Linked DNA regions of Homo sapiens: region 2 is linked to region 1. The links are contacts of gene promoters, found by promoter capture Hi-C in human tissues and cell types (Jung and others, 2019). All regions are on one chromosome and are shown on one strand. The core of a region is centred on a gene start or on the middle of the fragment in contact, and the rest is flanking DNA. Distances in the headings are between cores, read along the strand shown.

Region 1 (2,931 bases), core at 282-2,781:
GTTCTCAAAAGCTGACAGTATGTAAAAATTATTCTAAGTGCTTATTTAAAAAGCATAATCTCCGAACTCGTGAATCAGAATCTCTTGGGTGTGGGGCTGGATCGCACTTTTGACAAAGGCTCCCCAGTAGATTTTGACTCAACAGAGGGGTGTTTGGGAGCCTATATCTAATTTTCCCTGCCCCAGGTCTACACTTCAGTGTTCCCCACATTTTCTAATCCTTCTCTCCCTCCACACTCCGGTTCCTTTCATTATTCTAATACTTCCATGAATTAACCAGGTATAGAACTAATCTAGGCTGGGCGCAGTGGCTCACGCCTGTAATCCTAGCACTTTGGGAGGCCGAGGTGGGCAGATCACGAGGTCAGGAGATCGAGACCATCCTGGCTAACATGGTGAAACCCCGTCTCTACTAAAAATACGAAAAAATTAGCCGGGCGTGGTGGCGGGCGCTTGTAGTGCCAGCTACTCGGGAGACTGAGGCAGGAGAATGGCGTGAACCCGGGAGGCGGAGCTTGCAGTGAGCCGAGATCGTGCCGCTGCACTCCAGCCTGGGTGACAGAGCAAGACTCCGTCTCAAAAAAAAAAAAAAAAACTAGTTTATCAAATAACTGTGATATAGAAATTAAATACATATTGCTGCAACTGTATCAACAACTGTCCTGTCAGTGATAAGGGGTAACAATGTTTTCATACATGCATTCTCTCTTTGCTATATACATACACACATACACATAAATACATATATACATACACTCATGCATGTGTGTGTATATATACATGTGAGAGAAGACTCCGTTTATTATTTATATTTTTATAGTACACTTCTAAAACACAGCCATGTGCCTGAGATATAGTAGGGAGTCAAATATGTTTGAGTTACTGAATTAATTAATTTGACTTCATCCTTACTCAAGAAAAGTTTCAACTGAGTGAAGGTCTTCCATTCTCTAAAGAGCAAGTCAATAGAAGGAGATCATTCTTCCTTTACACATTGATGTAAGGAATATATCATACAAACTAGTCTTGATTTTTGTCATTTAGAAGACTAGTCTTGTAATTAATTGGCAATTTAGTATTCCATGTGAGATATCCAGTGTCCATGTACGTCATATTAGATCCATACACATGTAACAAGCAAAGAGGGTATGTTTTATTTTTTGAATGCTAATGTAACATGTAGGGACATTTTAAAAAATCGCCTTGACATATTTTCTATTTGGAATAGTTTTAAATACTTTGGATAATGTGTTGTATTTGTATTTCTAAAGAAGAAAATCTTATGCAACCAACTTAATTGAATAAGAAATAAATCATTCCCAGAAATAATTTATTTTCTAATGTTAACATAATGTGTACATTCTGAGAAATTATTAATAAAATGTTTAAAAGATAGGCTTCTGGGGTGAACTCCTAGAATTAGCTAGGTATGTTTTTTCTGTTTGCCTAGGACAATGACCTAATAAGATGGTTAATCATCATTGGACTCATAAAAACAAACAAATAAAAAGCCAACTAACCATTTAAAGTGAGACTTTAACATCAGAAAAAGGATGGACTTGTTGCAGTTGCTGTAGCATTCAAAGTCAAGGTAAGAACCGTCGAGGTTGTCTAATTAAAACATTTCTTTTATGTAAGAAATTTTAACAAATTTCAGTGAAAATGTTTTTGGTAGTTATGATAAATATTACAGATTTTATGCTCTGTGTCTTCTCCACACTTTTGTTCTGAGCCCTTAAAGCCTTGTAAATATCCCTTCTAGAAATAGAAGAGCCTCAGATTTATATACTCAAAAATAAGAGTAAATCATACCTTTATAAAGTGAAAAATAAAGTTTGGAGTCCTATTTCTATTGCTTTCTAAACAAATGAAACATGAAGTCTGAAAGGATGGACTTCTAGTTACTCTCTTAAAATATACTATAAGATAATTATTTGTATAAACTGTATTGAATTACTATACCAGGCTCCCTATTTCTTTGATTTCACTTTAACTGGATAAGTAGGAGTGGGCGGGTGGAGGGGTGGAAAATATGTTTCAAAGTCACTTAATCACCTCACTTTCCTCCATTCAACTCGTTTGATTTAGGGTGAGGGGAAAGAGATTTTCTAGATAACTTTTTTATCTCTGTTCAAATAAGAGAAAAAAATCTTCTGGGCACAGCTCTTGGAAAGAATTAACAGCTCAATAAATAATGGTCCCCTTCACCCATTCAGGAAGGTGGCTTCCCTGATAAGACAGTTATTTTTATTGTGAAAGTAAGGTGGGGATGCAGAAATTCTCTCCTCTGAACAATCTAAGAAGTTAGGAAATGCTGTTTTCCCTTTTATCCTCCTCAGTTCCATAGGTACATGCTAGAAACTGGGTCACTTGGCCTGCACTGGTTTTCTATAACCCCTTAAATATGAAAAGCTAAACAGAAATAAGCAGAGGCTGGTAAGATTCTGCCCTCTACTTCAGCCCAATCAAACTGTGAAGAACTGACCTGTTCTGTTCAGGGAAGAGTTGCAATGCTGCATACAAATGCCTGTGGCTCTGTCTATAAACATATTGTGTCCTCAACATTTATTTATGTCAATAATTTGGAACTCAGAAATAATATGTTCAGAGCAAAATATATTAAACGCTTCTAAATAAGGCTTAAAATGCCACAATGAAGTAAAAAGTGTGGTATTTATTCAAGGCTAAATTGATATTCAAGTTTTGTAGGTACTTTGTACTTACTTGATACATTTTTTTTTTTTTTTTTTTGAGAAGGAGTTTCGCTCTTGTTGCCCAGGCTGGAGTGCAATGGCGTGATTTCAGCTCACCACAACCTCAGCCTCCTGGGTTCAAGTGATTCTCCTGCCTGAGCTTCCAGAGTAGCTGAGATTACAGGCATGTACCACCACACCCAGCTAATTTTGTATTTTTGGCAGAAATGGGGTTTCT
Region 2 (2,931 bases), core at 282-2,781, 170 kb before region 1:
AAAGAACTTGTTGTAATAAACCTGCTTGTTCTATTAGAAGTCCCAGATAGTCTCCATAAAGGGAATTTATTTACATCTTCTCATAGGAAAGCTCTAGCTTCATTTGTGATCACTTTTATCTAATAATATTTCATATGTGCTGAGATTGTAAATTAATATGAATATTTATTAAAATCTTCACTTATCATTAGTTATAATCAGCACATACAAAAATTTGCTGTATACCTACTTGTTTTAATATTTATTTTGGACTATATTTCTAATGGTCCTATCTAAATAAATCCTTAGTTGAAAAGAAGCATAAGAGGAACCAAAGTTAAAATGGGGTTGGTTTAACTTTAATATGATAATGTGTGCAAATATTAGAAACTAAATTTCTTATTATAGTTCTAAGTGTACCTTTAACGGTTTTCAAGAAAAGAGGGTAAGTAGGAAAGCTTTTAAATTTGTAATTAGAATCCTTACAAAAATTGAAGAATCTAGATTTAAACAGAGAATTAAAGTAATTTCATGGTAGTAGCAATAGAAAGACAAGAAATATGGTCAACTCAATAATATAAATGTGATAAAAATGTATTTGTTCAATCAAACTTAGGATAAATTAATGTATGGTGAATACCCAATTGCATAAGGAGATAAATAATGTTTGGTGTCATTCATAGTCCCTTTCAGTTGGGCATTTTACTTAATAAAAAATCCATTCATATTCATTCATCGATCCAGTTATTTTTGAAGGTAGTTTTTATTTTCAAAGAGTTTCCTCTCTAAAGCATATTCTCCCTAACACCTCTCATTCTGATTTAAGTTTGAGAAGTGGGGAGAATGCCTCAGAAGTACCTGTGATCATGTAGCTATTTCATGGCAGCAATGAGAATAGTCCTGCTCAACCTATATTTAGTTCAGTTCAATTCAGCTGTACATGATGTGCCCACTGATTTTAAAGCTAGATATTGAAGTGACATGGTACATGCTAGAGGGGCAGAACTACCAGAGTATTAACTATATTCCAAAAGAAAAAAAAATATTTAAAGTGTTACCTCTATTCTTTATTACTTCTTCTTACCCTATGGTGCATAGGAGCATAGACAAAATTTTAAATACAAAATATATAAATTTGGATCTTAAAATCTGTGAATTTACATACAACTCCAACCCTCCATACCAGCTCACTTCAACTCTGTGCTTGAGGGAAAAGGAGAAAGTTGAGAAAACAAGTGTATCAAGACGGAAGAGGGAGATGGGCGGACTCTGGGAAAGAGGTAGGGTGTACCATGTGCTAGTGTATGCATGTGCGTCTATATGTTATTAAAGAGGGCGAGGGGGTTGCCACATGAGTGAAGGTGTCATCGAGAAGGCTAGGGGTTTGTCCAAAATGCAGAGATGAAGGAAGAAGTATGATGAGAATAAGGATAAAATAAGGATAGCTCTGATAGCATTTCTTATCCTTCTCAGTTGCCTACCCTGGCCAGAAGAAGAAGAGGAATCTTTGAGCATTTTTATGTATTACATAGAAACCTGTCAGTAACTTACATTGACCTTGCTAGCTTCTTTCCTGGGTGTCTTTGCTCCTGGGTTGGGTTACCAGAGAATTAATGACAAGAACAATGGAGATGCCAGCACTTGGCATAATACTGAGTACATGCTAAGTGAATATTTGATTAATAAACATGTCACTGACTGCTAACAGGACAGATGGTTTTCTATTCTTCAATCTAAGTGATTGATGACAGTATTATTCTCCTACACATACACACATATAACTAGATGTATATGTTTAGATAAGCAGCTGGATTTGGTTAGTGATTTTTTTTTTATTTAGTACTTTTAAACCTGTACTCGAAAGCAAAAGGAACATGTTTAAATATACATACTGTCTTTACCTCGTTTTTAAATCAAGATTGTACCAGCCTCATAAAATGAGTTTGGCAGCTTTTCTTCTTGTATTTTCGGCACTAGATTATTTACTTAGGATTAATTGCTTGTTGAAAGTTTGTTTTTTGTTTTTTTGTTTTTTTAAAATAAAACATTACCTATAAAGTTTTCTGGGCCTGGGCCTTGGGGTGGGGGACAGGGTGGATTAGAGCTCAAAAGGATTAGAGCTCAAAAGCTGCAAGTTCACCTGGAATAGATGTTATCAATTCCTTACCCCAAACAGGCTCTGCCAACACTGTGATACTGCCCCCCATCCACCTCCGTACTGCTATGCTCATGCACAGGTTTCTCTGACTTGCAACAATAATAGTAACTACTGGCATATAGTAATCTTCCCAGCTTGCAACAGGAGAAGATAATTTAAGAAGCTGGCTTCCAACATATCTCCCAAAAGTGGAACCCTACTCCCAGACTGCCATTTTCCTACCATAACAGGTCATTACTATCTTCTACCGATGGAGGCAGAAGATATTTTATTTTATTCTTACAAATCCAGCATTGATTCTGGGAGAAAGCTGGTGATCTATACTAGTTCTGTCTTGTTCTACAGCAGCAATTTATTTTACATGAATAATGTTTACACAAATTACAAATTCACCGTGTATCTGGCCCTTTAAAATATATTTCCTAATGTAATTGTCACAATTGTACCATGAATTTGGCAATATTATTCCCGTATTTTTAAGATAAATAAGACTTTTTACTCTGTCTTATTTTTAAGATAAGGAAGTGGATTTTAAGTAACTCACCCAAGTTAGCATGGATAATATTATAGCAGAGGTAAAAGCACACCTGTCCCAAATCCAGAAAATTCTAGTATGATCAATTTCATAAATAGCCCAAGTACAGACATAAAATATGATCGTAATTCTCTTGCCTGTGAATTATTTGTAAATGTAATGGGCTCATATCACTGGAGATGGGCTATACTCAGGGATATAGATGTCAATCTTAATGAAATTGCTCTTTCAAGTACCATATAATATTATTACTCATATT

Evidence for each region. Contacts are between HindIII fragments. The study calls those that stand out against the background at their distance.
Region 2: a contact is called between a fragment that was not itself captured here and the fragment with the promoter of SLCO1B3 in region 1, in 1 of the 25 tissues and cell types used here (hippocampus).

Annotation. Positions count from the first base shown.
Region 1 is chr12:20,809,174-20,812,104 of GRCh38, forward strand. It overlaps SLCO1B3 (solute carrier organic anion transporter family member 1B3), which reads left to right and starts at 1,532. Exons shown (of 16, transcript NM_019844.4): 1 at 1,532-1,591. The HindIII fragment of the contact is 19,974 bases long and covers 1-2,931 here.
Region 2 is chr12:20,641,822-20,644,752 of GRCh38, forward strand. The region is part of intron 10 of PDE3A (phosphodiesterase 3A); the gene reads left to right. Among named protein-coding and RNA genes, the nearest start is that of SLCO1C1, 52 kb to the right of the region's middle. The HindIII fragment of the contact is 6,217 bases long and covers 1-2,931 here.